Linked DNA regions of Homo sapiens: regions 2 and 3 are each linked to region 1. The links are contacts of gene promoters, found by promoter capture Hi-C in blood cells and fetal thymus (Javierre and others, 2016). All regions are on one chromosome and are shown on one strand. Each heading gives the region's core, a stretch centred on a gene start or on the middle of the fragment in contact. The rest is flanking DNA. Distances are from core to core; before and after follow the strand shown.

Region 1 (4,796 bases), core at 726-3,225:
CCACTTTCACTTTTCACAATACTATAATTATTGCAATACCACTTAACACTCTTCACTTTCAATGTTATCAGCCACAGTGATCTTTTTATAATCTAAGTAAAACTGTCACTTGACTCCTCAAACCTTCCAATGGCTACCCATCTCGGTAAGATTAAAAACCCATGATAAGGCCTATAAAATCTGGCCACCCCTTGGGCTTTTGCCCTAATTTCCCTCCCATCCTTGCTCACTCGACTTCAGTCACAACGATTTCCCTCCTATTCCCCGAACACACTTTCCACCTCAGGGCCTTTCCAATTGCTCTTCACTCTGCCTAGAAGATTCTTCTCCCAGGTATCCACGTGATTTGCTCCCTCATCTTCAGTTTTTTGCTCAGATGTCACCTTCTCAGTGAGGCCTTGCTTATTTTATTTAAAATGACAACTTCGGCCAGGTGCAGTGGCTAACGCCTATAATCCCAGCACTTTGGGAGGCCGAGGCAGGCGGATCACCTGAGGTTAGGAGTTTGAGACCAGCCTGGCCAACATGGTGAAACCCTGTCTCTACTAACAAAACAAAAATTAACTGGGTGTGGTGGCGGGTGCCCCTAATCCCAGCTATTCGGGAGGCTGAGGCAGGAGAATCGCTTGAACCAGGGAGGCAGAGGTTGCAGTGAGTCGAGATCGTGTCATTGCACTCCAGCCTGGGTAACAAGAGCAAAACTCCATCTCAAATAAAATAAAATAAAAACTTCCCTCAATTCTTCATCCCTAATTTTTCTCCATCATACTTATTACTCTCTAACATATTGTTCACCTTGCTTAATTTATGTTGTTTATTGTCCATCTCTCCCTACTTGAGTTCCATGAGAGCAGAGATTTTTATTTGTTCTATTCACAGCTGTATTCTCCAGGCCAAGAACAGTGCTGGCATATGGAAGTGGCTCAAAAGGTGATTTGTTGAATGAATAAAAAAAGAAATTCTCAGTTTGCTGCTACGTCTTCAGTACTCAACACTTGCTAAGCCCCTTTTAGGGGCTCAGTGACTTGGTAGATAAAAGTATCAAGTCAGAATTTATTAATATTAAATCGAAATGCTTTGCCTTCATTTTGCTTTCTGACTACTTTTTATTCAAGATACTGGATCTCACTCTTTTAACAAAATAATTTTTAATTTAATACATGTTTTTAAGTTTAAAAAGTGAGGTTCTTCTAAGAAAAGCCTTAAGAAATTATTATGCAACTAGCACAGGCACAGGGCAAAAATTGTGAATGTGGTATTTGAACGACTGAAATTTAGGAACTCTCTTCGAATAGGGTTGCCAGATAAAATACAGGACACAGTTAAATTTGAACTTTCAATGAGTGATTTCGTTGTTGTTTTGCTGTAAGGATGTCCCAAATATTGCATTGGACACACACTAAAAATTATTCGTTATCTTAAATTCTATTTTAACTGGATATTATTTTTAATTTCTGCTAAATATGGCAACCCTATCTAGGAGAACAAATAAACTGCACCCGCTTGTCGCTTCAATTTCGATCTATTACAAACAGCTAATACAATTCTTGTCCTATCCACTAACTGCGTGGCTTTTATGCCCCAACAAATATGTTCCTGTGGGCGGGTACTGAGGCCCGATATCCTAAAAACAAGGAGGCAAAGATACACAGTGCACTTTGCGAGGGGAAAGGCTCTCCTCGCAGCCCAGAAAAAGAGGCCGGCCGCATCAGACGCAGGCCATTCCGGGCCCAGCTCCTTTCCCAGCCTCTGTCGCCTGCGTGGCGGAGGCCAAGGCTTGGCAGCCGCTTTCCGGCCCTTACCAATGTTGCCTTCGATGGAGAGCCTTCGGGGCCCGCGCCCCGCGTGCAGGCCTCTGGAGGAGGAAACGCCCTCGAGTGGGCTCTTGGCCATGGAACTGAAGGGTGCTCGAAGCCGACTTAGAAAGAGGCGGCCCGCGGCCATCCCACCCACGATTCACACAGCGATCACTTCCGCCGAGAGCACTTCCGCCCTAGGTATCGCTGCTCACTCGCTCCAGCGCACCGTTGACGTAAGGAGATCGTCAGACAGGAAGTGGGTGGGGTTGAACATGCGGCGGGGTGCGCCCAAGAGACCGCTCCGCTATCGCGATGTTTGTAAAGAAGCGTTGAGTGAAGGAAGTTTTGCAACGGTGCAGAATTTGATAGTAAAAGGAGTTGCGGTGCGAGTGGTTTTTGTTCATTGGACAAATAACATTTTAAAAGACGTAATTCCACAATCCAACCACTTCATTTTTGTATAACTTTAAAATAAATTTTATAACTGAAGACAAAATTAAAAATAGAAATTGTAATTTTAAGAGGGGATTTCCCCCCCCCCAGGTGCTTGTTGTCTGGTTTTTATTTTAATATCGGAAGAAAATGGAAGTTTTAAAGTAGGAAAATGACTCAATCTGATGATTTACACAAATTTAACTTTTTCCTATTCCCTGTAATTCCCCTGCACAATGCTGGCATATTATTGACTAAATTAACAAATTAGATAATCAGTTACACCCCATCTCTTAGTTTGTGTCTTGAATAAGTAAATAAATGTTCGGTCAATCGATTTGCATTATACCCAAAAATCCCTTCAGGATAAGGTGGTGGTGGCTCAGGTATGTGACTGGAAATTGTTTAAACCTGGTAGGCTGGGTTCTTGGACGTAAGCAATGGCGAGTAGAGACTTGTATAAAACCTGAGTCCTGCTGTCGGTGAAGTGTGCTCTGCAGGAGGGCAGGGACCTAAGCTGCTGCCACAGGTGAAGCCGGACTGCCACACCCCGTCGTCATAACAACCTCAGAAGTAATGATTTACAAAATGTTGTCAAATGGTGCTTCCAGTTCCAATCGCTTAAATCACCAACAGTCAAAACCAGGAGTCAACAGGCCAAACCGGCCTTCAGGCAGCGCTCTTAGGTGTGGCAGGTTTTAGAAGACAAGGATCTGATTGCAAGGGGGCTGGGGAGGGGCCGGGGGCTGGGATACCTGTCTTGAAGCTGTTCCCATAAAAAGCACGGGACCTTTTTCTTATGTTGATGTATATATAGGATGGCTGAGGTCATGTTTATATATTAAGAACTTTTTTTTTAATCGAATTTTTTAAGGATAACCAGGGTGGGGCGTTAATGGCTACTGGAGCGGCTAAAGTCCTACCCATTCCCATCTCCACTCCAGCAGCCACTTCTGTTAAAACAAAACAAAACAAAACAAAACAAAACAAAAAACAAAAAAAAAACTGCTTACATTTCTTTACCTATGTAAACTCAGACTTGGAAAATATTCATCCAAAAAAGCTTGAGAGGCTCTCTGCCTCGCCAGGATCTTGCTGCCTCAGGGGTGTTGTGAAAGTTAAATGAGGAAGTTGTCTGCAGGCAGGCATTAATCTCCTAAAAGCTACGAGGCAGGAAAATAGGGTCTGGAGACAGGGAACCTAAGGCCGATTTAGGCTGACTTCCTAGAACTAAATCAAAAGGAAAACCCCAACTTTCTAGCCCAAGTAACAAAAGGACCAGAAGCTAATCCCTCTTCTGGGTGGCAGATAAAAAATTGAAAGTACCTCTGACTGGTCCCCGCGGGCAATCAGTCAGGCTGGTGGCAGGCCAAGTCTTTAGTTGCATGGGGTATAACTTCATAACTTTACTTCAGCCTCTGATTGGTCCCCTCCTGCAACCAATCAGACTGATCGCTGGCCACTACTTCATTTACATAGGGTGTACACCAGGTAACCAATGGGAAACCTCTAGAAGGTATTTAAACCCCAGAAAATTCTGTAATTGCTGCTTGCTTGGGCCCTTCCTACCGCAAGGAGTGTTCTTTGATGTACAATAAATCTGTGCTTTTGTTGCTTCATTGTTTCCTTGCTTTGTACGTTTTGTCCAATTCTTTGTTCAAAATGTCAAGAACCTGGGCACCCTCCACCAGTAACAGAGCTCCTAAAAATTATTTTTAAAAATTTTATGGTGAAGTGGCCTGGCGCGGTGGCTCACGCCTGTAATCCCAGCACTTTGGGAGGCTGACGAGGGCGGATCACGAGGTCAGGAGATCAAGACCATCCTGGCTAACATGGTGAAACCCTGTCTCTACTAAAGAGAGAGAAAAAAAAAAAAGCGGAGTGTGGTGGTGGGCTCCTGTAGTCCCAGCTACTCAGGAGGCTGAGGCAGGAGAATGGCCTGAACCGGGGAGGCGGAGCTTGCAGTGAGCCGAGATCGCGCCACTGTGCTCCAGCCTGGGCGACAGAGCGAGACTCCGTCTCAAAAAAAAAAAAAAAAAAAAATTATGGTAAAGCATAGTATGTAGTGAGGAAAAGAGGATGTGTTGTGCAGTGAGGAAAAGAGGATGTGTTGTAAGTGTACAGTTCAATGAAGTTTTCACAAATGGAATGACTGTTACCTGGATTCAGATCAAGAAACAGCATTATCCGCATCTCCAGAATCCCCCATATTCGTTGCCAGTTACTATCCCTCAAAGATAACCATTAGCCTGACTTCAACAGTAGAGATTAGTTTTGCGTTTTCTTTATATAAATGGAATTATATAGTAAATACTTCTTTTATTTAACATATCTGTGAGATTCATCCAGGTTGAATGTATTAGTTGTAGTTCACTCATTCTCATTGCTGTATAGTATTCCACAATGTCACTATACCACAATGTACTCGGAAGTTTCTAGATTTGAGCCATAATGAATAGTGTTGCGGTAAATATTCTTGTACATGTCTTTTGGTAAAAAGAAGTATGCATTTCTCTTGGGTGTATAAGTAAGACTGGAACTGCTGTGTAATAAGTTACATATATA
Region 2 (4,796 bases), core at 943-3,442, 93 kb before region 1:
TTCAGTCCTGATCAAGTACTGGAAGCCCCAAACAGGCAGCCTCTTTTGTTAACATTAGTTCACAGGCCAGCAGTTCTCAAACTCCATTGGGCGTGGGAATCACCTGTAGGAAGCTGGTTATGGATGCAGATTCCCAGGTCCCACCAGAGATCAACGCTGCCTGACCATGGAAGGGATTCTGACCCAGGTGGCCCCTGAACGACCTTTTGAGAACCCCTTCCCATAATCCTATGGGGTTGAGGGTGAGTGCAGATGAGGGGAAGGCCTCGGCTGGTTCAGAAACCAGGTGAACTGAGGTTCTTACAGGCTGACCAGGGACAGTAGTCTCTTCCCACCTCCCATATGCACATGCAGGCCTGGCCATTCAGTGGTCAGTGCTGATGCTCTCTGAAACGCCAAAACATGGATGGAGGTGGCAGTGTAGAAACAGACTTTGTCCAACGGGTGGGCTAAAGCCCTAGGCAGCCCTGCATCGTGGCCTCACTGCCAGAATGCGCTCTGCTCTGTAAGGAGGCATCTGGAACAGCTCCATCGGTTCATGGAGGTCCATCTGTCAGAGTCTCTGCTCAGCACCCTGAGAAAGCAGCTCCTCCAGAGCTGGCAGAGATGCAGCTGTGGATGCAGCTGGGGCCTCATGGGGAGCCTCAGGGCCACCTGGCTGGGGAGACTCAGAGGCCCCAGGTGGGCACTGGGAGATGAAGTAAGAAACCAACAGCAGGGGATAGGGGCAGATAGAGCAATACTTCCAGATCTTTTCCCCAATCCAGTATTTCTTGAGTGTCCTCTTGGTTCCAATGTTTCCCAGGGATTAAAACAAACCAGCAGAGGAGCCAGAGAAGCATTTCTATGTCCTCTGCCACCCTGAGCATGGGAGATGAGTGAGTGGGAAGGGGAGGGTGAGCACAGACCACGGGATAAATGAGGAACAGCTTACTGCTGCGGTCAAGCAAAACCCAGGGAAACCCCGGGACACGCTGAACCAGATGCACAACTGCTAGAGAGGGATTAGAAATCAGCTCACGTCCTCACTCCCACCTTCTTTTTATGCATGTTGAGAGGCAGAAATCCTGACCCCTGCTTAACAACAGCAGGGATTCCCTTCTCTCCAAGGGCATAGCCCTCAAGCCCTTGAACAAGAGGTGGGAGTTCCCTTGTTCCTGGGTCCCTCCAAGGCAGGTAGACATCACCATCCTTGCTCCAGGGGCAGCAGAGACCAGTGGGGGCAGGGACCTGAGAGTCTGGAACCACTGCCAAGGGTACAGAGTGAATTGGCATGCCCCAGACAGCTCCATCAAGGAATAGTGCCTGCCATTCCCCAATTACAAACAAAAGCTTACATATAAAATGCAAACACCAAGCCTGGGCACTGTGGCTCATGCCTGTAATCCCAACACTTTGGGCAGGCAGACCACTTATGCCCCAGAAATCAAGACCAGCCTGGGCAATATGGTGAAACCCCATCTCTAAAAAAATACAAAGAATAGCTGGGTGTGGTGGTATGCACCTGTAGTCCCAACTACTAGGGAGGCTGAGGTGGGAGGATCACTTGAACCCAGAGGCAGAGATTGCAGTAAGCTAAGATCATGCCACTGCATTCCAGGTTTGGTGACAGAGTGAGACTCTGTCTCAAGGGAAAAACAAATGCAAACGCTATGGTAAAGATTAGCACACGGATAGGAATAAACTTCACGTAGGACATACTGGGTTGGGGGGATGCATATACTCTGGAGGAGAATAGTAGAAGAAAAAAGAAAGGCACTACCATATGAGAGAAGGTGACTGGGCACATAGGTGTGAACCCATCTCACAATGTTCTGTACAAGCTCTGCTTCCAGCCTTGATGAGTCCTCATCCCCTAAGGGAAGCTGCAGATAAGTTTGTTTGTGCTACCTTGAAATGATTGGAAGCTAAGAAAGCAGTTCTCCCAACTAGTTAGCACTAATGAGGGCTAACAACAAGGGGGCTGTGGGTCTCAGGATAATAATGAGATAGAGGCTCAGAGGGCTCCTCCCTGATGTCTGCACGTGGAAAAATGGCCCAGGACCTCCTTTTTCCTGCGGGGACAAGGAGGGTGCCCAATCTGTTATCCAGATCACAGCCTGCAGGGCCTGGAGCCAGGGCTGCTTGAGATTCTGCTGCTCACATTGGCCCAGGCTGTCACACTTTGAAGAGGTGAAGCTCACTGTCCCTCTCATCAATCTGATGCCACGGCGTTTATTAAAAGGATTTACCGCATGCTAGGCTTTGTGCCAGGTACTGGTGACATGAAATGGAGTGAGATGAGCACCCCACCACTGGGAACTCACACTCAGGCACACAGTATTGCCACGGAGGTACAGACAATATACCATGAGGACTTGAGGGAGAAAGGGACAGAAGTGTCAGAAGAGGCAGCACAGAGCAGCTGCATTTCTAATATGCGGGCAAAGATGGGATACAAAGTATAACAGAAAAGATCCCATTCCCAACAGCAACAACAGCAGCTACAGCATATCTAGGAAGAAACTTCACAAGAAATGTGTAAGAAGAAAACCTTAAAACGTTTCATTTATTTTGTTTGTTTGGTTTTTATTAGAGACAGAGTCTCCTTCTGTCGCCCAGACTGGAGTGCAGTGGCCAGATCATAGCTCACCGCAGCCTCCAACTCCTGGGCTACAGCGATCCTCCCACATCTGCCTCCCAAGTAGCTGGGACTACAGGCATGCGCCACCACACCCAGCTAGTTTTTATTTTTTGTAGAGATGAGGGTTGGCGGGGGGTCTCACTATGTTACCCTGGCTGATCTCAAACTCCTGGCTTCAGGCAGTCTTCCCGCCTCAGCCTCCCAAAGCACTGGCATTATGGGGCATGAGCCACCACACCTGGCCTTAAAACTTTGATGAACACACAAAAAAGACTAGAATAAACGGAAAGGTCTACTTCCCTTTCTCTGGATAGGAAGATTCATTGTAAAGCTATCTATTCTCCCCAAAATAACCTGTACGTTTCATGTGATTCCAACTGAAAAATCCCAGTATTTTTCGCAGAACATGGTAAGTTGTTTATAAGCTTATTTGGAGAAAGAAATGCCAAAAAAAAAAAAAAAAGTAAGAAGTATGTTTTAAACCAAAGTATTATATAAAAATGGTGGTAATTAAAACAATGAAATACACAGAATCAGACAAATAAGTCAATGGAAGTAAAAAGAGGCCTTAAAACACCCATGACTGTAAGAGTACTTATGAAATGCTTAAGGTAGAATTCATACACTACAAGGGAAACTACAAATACCCAATAAATAGATTGGGGATAACAGGCTTTCTATTTAGGAAAAGTTCAATCCCTATCTTATATCGCATGCAAAAATAAATCTCACCTTAGAAATCTGAACATCTAAAATAAAACTTAAGTAAGAAAAGCCAAAATACTGATGAATTCTCGTTGTATAAAAATCAAATTTTTATGATAGACACAATGAAAGACAAACAGGCCAAAATTTTTTTCAAAACGTAACAGAAGTTAGTATCAAAACCCTCATAACGATGAAAGCTATACTATGTTTTCTCACTTAAGATGACAGAAGAAGGCCAGGCACGGTGGCTCACACCTGTAATCCCAGCACTCTGGGAGGCCAAGGCAGGCCGATCACTTGAGGGCGCGAGTTCGAAAACAGCCTGACAAACATGGAGAAGCCCCGTCTCTACTAAAAATACAAAATTAGTCGGGCACGGTGGCACATGCCTGTAATCCCAGCTACTCGGGAGGCTGAGGCAGGAGAATTGCTTGAATCCGGGAGGAGGAGGTTGCAGTGAGCCGAGATTGTGCTACTGCACTGCAGCCTGGGCGACAAGAGCAAAACTCCGTCTCAAAAAAAAAAAAAAAAAAAAAAAGAGACAGAAGAGGTTTCATCTTATCCCAGTTAAAAAGGCTGTTAAGAAAAAGACAAAAAATAAATGATGGTGAGGATGCGGAGAAAGGGGAACTCTTACAGACTGTTGGTGGGAATGTAAATTAGTACAGCCATTACGGAAAACAGCATGGAGGTTTCTCAAAAAAACTAAAACTAGAACTACCGTATGATCCAGCAATCTCACTTCTGGATATACGTCCAAAAGAATTGAAATAGGTGTGTCAAAGAGATGTCTGTACTCCCATGTTTACTGCGGCAGTATTGACAACATCCAAGATATGGAATCGACCGAAGTATCAGTCAATGGATAAAGAACACGTGGTACGTGCACATAATGGAATACTAGTTAGCAATTAAAAAAACAACAACAACAAAATACTGTCATTTGTGGCAACATGGATGAGCTTGGAGGATATGTTAAGTGAAATAAGCCAGGGACAGAAAGATAAATACCACATGTTCTCACTCAAATGTGGAAGCTAAAAAAAGTTGATCTCATAGAAACAGAGAGAAGAACAGTGGTTATCAGAGGCTGGGGAGGGCAGGGGTGCAGGGGAAATACCCAAAGGTTGGTTAACACATTAAACAGCACAGCCAGATAGAAGGACTAAGTTGCGGTGTTCTATAGCACCATAGGGCAACTATAATTCACAATTTATTGTTTGGTTGTATGTGTGTGGAGTGGAGTGCAGCGGTGTGAAAATAGCTCACTACAGCCTCAAACTCCTAAGCTCAAGCAATCCTCCCATGTCAGCCTCCCAAGTAGCTGGGACTACAGGCATACAATGTCGTGCGGGGCTAATTTTAAATTTTTTGCTATACAGAGAGGGGTCTCACTTTGTTGCATAGGCTGGTCTTGAACTTCCCACCTCAAGCAATTCTGCTGCCTCAGCTTCCCAAGTAGCTG
Region 3 (4,796 bases), core at 1,252-3,751, 64 kb before region 1:
ATGGGTTGGGTCATCCTCTTTACCCTGCTGGCACTTGGAATTCTTTGCCTGTTCATCACAGCTTATTTGTCACTGCCCCCGCCCTCCACCCCACTGGCTCCGTGTCCCATTCCCTTCTGGTCATAGAGATGTTGTAGACAGCTCCTCAAACTTTCATGGACATACAAATCACCTGGGGATCTGGTTAAAGTGCAGATTTCAATTCAGCAGGTCTGGGGTAGGGCTGGACATTCTGCAGTTCTATCAAACTTGCAGGTGATGCCAATGCTGCTGGTCCACTGAGCAGCAAGGTGGAAGTGAGGCTGTGGAACATACAGGTGTCTCAGGACTCAGGTGAGCAATTTGCCATAGAATAGTCCAGGTAGGTGCCCATCACCTCACAGTCTCTCACCTGCATCAGAGGGTTTCCATGCTAACTACACATTAGGTACACCTGGGAGCCCCAGACCAGTTTGGTCCACCCTGGATCAATTAAATCAGAATCCCTTGGGAGTGGGGCCCAGGCACCATGTTTTGCTACGTTTCCCAGGTGATCCCAATGTGGAACCCCTGATCTACATGGCTGACAGACTGAACAGGGCAGTCATATCAGTGGCCTCCCTCTCTAAGATGACTTTAAGTCAAAAACTGGACTTCTCATCTGTCCAAGCTGGCAGGAGATGCCATCATTTATTTACAGAAATCTAGATCTGTTCATTTGCCTCAGCTGCTTTGAAAAGAACCACAAGCACCCTCAAAGTTTATCACCTGCCTTTCTAAAGTTTCACAAAACACCTTTTAAACAATCTGTTCTAGAACTCTCAAAAACTGACATTAAGATTATATATTTACAATTTTCAAAATCTCTTTGAGAAATTGGACTTTTAGCCCATCTCTGGTTTTTTGGCCCTCTTTCAATCATCATAATTCCATAAAAATTGTAATTCACCATGAGTTCACCAGGCTGGGCAAAATAGCGACACTCTGTCTCTATTTAAAAAAACAACAAGGGCCGGGCACAGTGGCTCACGCCTGTAATCCCAGCACTTTCGGAGGCCAAGGTGGGCAGATCACCTGAGGTCAGGAGTTCAACACCAGCCTGGCGAACATGGTGAACCCCCTTCTCTACTAAAAAAACAAAAATTAGCCAGGCGTGATGGCACATGCCTGTAATCCCAGCTACTCGGGAGGCTGAGGCAGGAGAATCGCTTGAACCGGGGAGGTGGAAGTTGCAGTGAGCTAAGATCACGCCATTGCAGTCCAGCCTGGGTAACAGAGCGAGACTCCATCTCAAACAAAACAAAACAAAAAAAAAAAAGAAAAGAAAAAAAGATTGTGATTTTGCAATCACATCTGCAGGTGTTCAGTAGGAAGTGAATGACTCAGACTCAGGTAGGGTAGCTGGCTGGCTCTGTTTTCCCCAGGTTATATCTTCTGACACCACAGGGACCCAGTGTCTGTCCACTCTCTCCATCCCTAGAAAGTTGTAAGCCTACCTCTTCCCTCTCACTCTTGCTAGAACCATATACAAGACATTGTTATCAGCATTTTCCACCAGCCTTAGCACATTCTGGCCACTGGACTCCCTGATGCTCCTCTTAGGGGCTCAGACCACACTCCTGACTCTGCTTCAGTGCCATGTCCCCACTTTCCACATAATGTGCTTGGCCTTTTACCCCCTCACTCACTAGAGAACAGCCCATACAGCCACACAGATGGCTCAGTCCTTCCCCAGTCCCACCAACACCTTTCTCCTGAAGCTATCATTCATGACTGTTCTATCAGCGTTTCCTTCTTTTTTTTTTTTTTTTTTTTTTTGAGACAGAGTTTCACTCTTGTTGCCCAGGTTGGAGTGCAATGGCGCAATTTCAGCTCACTGCAACCTCTGCCTCCTGGGTTCAAGGGATTCTCCTGCCTCAGCCTAGGTACACCTGGGAGCCCCAGACCAGTTTGGTCCACCCTGGATCAATTAAATCAGAATCCCTTGGGAGTGGGGCCCAGGCACCATGTTTTGCTACATTTCCCAGGTGATCCCAATGTGGAACCCCTGATCTACATGGTTGACAGACTGAACAGGGCAGTCGTATCAGTGGCCTCCCTCTAAGATGACTTTAAGTCAAAAACTGGACTTCTCATCTGTCCAATCCTCAGGAGCTGGGATTACAGGCACCCACCACCACGCCTGGCTAATTTTGTATTTTTAGTAGAGATGGGGTTTCTCCATGTTGGTCAGGCTGGTCTCGAATTCCTGACCTCAGGTGATCTGCCTGCCTTGGTCTCCCAAAGTGCTGGGATTACAAGCGTGAGCCACCGTGCCCGGCCAGAGTTTGCTTTTTAACAAGCAATTCTATCCCTCCAGCTAATTTTCATTTAGAATCTGTGGCCGTGGAGTTAAAAACCGCTTGCATTTGAAAGACGATATTCTAAAGACTATCCATAAAAATTGTAATTCACCAGTTCAAGACCAGCCTGGGCAAAATAGCGAGACCCTGTCTCTATTTAAAAAAACACCAAGGGCCGGGCACGGTGACTCACGCCTGTAATCCCAGCACTTTGGGAGGCCAAGGTGGGTGGATCACCTGAGGTCAGGAGTTCAACACCAGCCTGGCCAACATGGTGAAACCCCATCTCTACTAAAAATACAAACACTCCTCCCTGTCCAACCTTCTTTCAGGCTTGACAAATGCTCAGATGCGGTCCCTTTCTCTAAAGATTCTCATCACTTCCACTTCTCTAGTCAATTCTCCCTTTGATGCTGAGACCAGCCTGAACACATTCCTCTCCACAGCCTCCATCTTCAGGAAGATAGAACTACCAGCAGGATGGGCAAGGATTCATCAGGTGTTCTGATATTGTTGAAAGATTCCCAATTCCAAGGTATCTTGACTCAAATCTGGCAGAGATCTGTTTCAAGATGTAAATCCAGTTGGCTGAGGGCTAGAAAGTATTCTCATCACATATATCTTTCCATTTCTCTCATTTTCACCCATAATATTCTCAGTCATGCTTCCAAACTTATGCATACATTTTTCTATGCATTTTTTTAAGGGTCATTCTCCTACTCTAATAGTTATTTACTTCCCTCATCCATGGTCAACTTTTCAGTCAGGCCTAGGACCATAGTGACTCCTTGGTGTCTAGCCTCCTCCCCCAGCACAGAGGCTGGCAAACTCCTCCCTCCCTCTGCCTGGCTCTACTGTTCTGCCCCACGGTTCTTCTATGAGCAAGTGAGGTGAATGCCTTGAGATAAACGCTTAATTTGTATTGCATCTGGAGTTGTATGCAGGCTGGAGTGCAGTGGCTCAAATATTGCCCACTGTGGGCTCAGGCGATTCTCCCACCTCAGTCTTTCCAGGAGCTAGGACTACAGGCACATGCCACCATGCCTGGCTAATTTTTTTTTTTTTTTAGCAATGGGGTCTTGCTATGTTGCCCAGCCTGGTCTCAAGTGATCATCCTGCCTCAGCCTCCCAAAGCTCTGGGATTACAGGAGTAAGCCACCATACCTAGCCCTTGTATTGCATCTTTACAGCTCGAAGACTAATGCACAGTTGTTTATGCATAAAGATTCATCATTTTCTAGATGTTTAGGAATGTTTTGTCATCATGCATTGATTACCTACTATGTGCCAGACATTATGCATATTTTATCTCATTTAATCCTCATGACAACCCTACAAAGCAGGGTTACTCCCATCTTACAATTGAGAAAATGGACACAGAAGGGATGGAGCACTGGTTGCCCAAGAGAGTAAGGGCACAGCACTTACTCTGGGTTCTCAGCCCTATCCACTGTGCTTCCTTACTCACCAAACCCTACTTTTCTACTCAGTCATCTTCATTGTACTACCAAGCCACCACTCAGGTAAAAAGAATATGAAATCAAACAACCTCCTCTAAAGTCTTCCTGGAACTAGGAAGGAAGACCACAGCTACTACCAACCTGCCCCAACCTCACATTAGGACCCAGAGAAGTAGTCACCGCCTCCTAGGGCAGGAAGGCCCATCCCTGGGGGACCTGTCTCTAGCCCTAAAATGCTGAACTTCTTTTCTGAGGGATTCCCCTGCACCCTTCTCCCCACCGACAAAGCCCAGAGAAAAAGAGTGAGGAGCAGGGAAAGAAGATGGAAAACCCAAGATAATCTCCTCCTTACAGGATGATATAAAGTAACTGCAAGCAGACAATTCAAAGGAAGCCCCAAAGTCAGCTACGAGAGATGGAGACAGAAGGGAAGTAAGGAAGAGTGCCCAGAGGAGCACAGCACTCTCACAGAGAGGAGGAAGTACCACACAGCAGGAATGCAGGTAAATGGTCTGATGTCCGAGAGGATCCTAGGATACTGCGTCCCGCCCCACCTGAACAGTCACAGCCAAAACAGCCTCCCCAATCCCGGGACATGTTCCCTCTGCCACACGGCTGCTAAGATCTAATGGTTATGGTCCCAGCAGTCCCCAGCATCTGCTAAATGCTGGGCTGGTCTTGGGGTCTCATCCACCCTGGCAGTCTCTCAGGAACATCTCAGCTTTTCAATTAATTATGCCACAGATATGCCCGTTAAATGTGGTATACCCTAGACAGTGACTCTCTGGCATTCAGCCTTCATGGACCAAAAAAAAAAAAAAACAAAAAAAACTTTTTTTTTTTTCAGAGAGAGGCACTGGTTACCATTTTGTATTTTACCAAGCTAAGACTTAAAAAAAAAAAAAAAGGTCTAATTTCTATTACACCTTCACTTCATAAAGCACATTTTAAGAAAGCGTATTTTAAACATCGAGAAGTAGAAAGGACCTATCCTTAGAAAAAAAGTACTGCTCTT

Evidence for each region. The method cuts DNA at HindIII sites, captures the fragments that hold promoters and counts their contacts. A CHiCAGO score of 5 or more calls a contact.
Region 2: a fragment that was not itself captured here is called in contact with the fragment with the promoter of DGUOK in region 1 in 8 of 17 cell types (activated CD4 T cells, naive CD8 T cells, monocytes and 5 more); the score reaches 7.2 in activated CD4 T cells.
Region 3: a fragment that was not itself captured here is called in contact with the fragment with the promoter of DGUOK in region 1 in 10 of 17 cell types (activated CD4 T cells, naive CD8 T cells, total CD8 T cells and 7 more); the score reaches 13.4 in activated CD4 T cells.

The regions. Positions count from the first base shown.
Region 1 is chr2:73,924,059-73,928,854 of GRCh38, reverse strand. DGUOK (deoxyguanosine kinase) reads right to left here and starts at 1,975. Exons shown (of 7, transcript NM_080916.3): 1 at 1,803-1,975. The coding sequence starts at 1,944. RefSeq lists an enhancer at 1,674-1,943. The HindIII fragment of the contact is 7,290 bases long and covers 1-3,296 here.
Region 2 is chr2:74,017,035-74,021,830 of GRCh38, reverse strand. All of the region lies in intron 3 of TET3 (tet methylcytosine dioxygenase 3), which reads right to left. Among named protein-coding and RNA genes, the nearest start is that of TET3, 35 kb to the right of the region's middle. RefSeq lists enhancers at 10-509, 461-510 and a silencer at 691-770. The HindIII fragment of the contact is 1,716 bases long and covers 1,335-3,050 here.
Region 3 is chr2:73,988,807-73,993,602 of GRCh38, reverse strand. All of the region lies in intron 2 of TET3 (tet methylcytosine dioxygenase 3), which reads right to left. Among named protein-coding and RNA genes, the nearest start is that of TET3, 6.3 kb to the right of the region's middle. The HindIII fragment of the contact is 5,630 bases long and covers 1-4,796 here.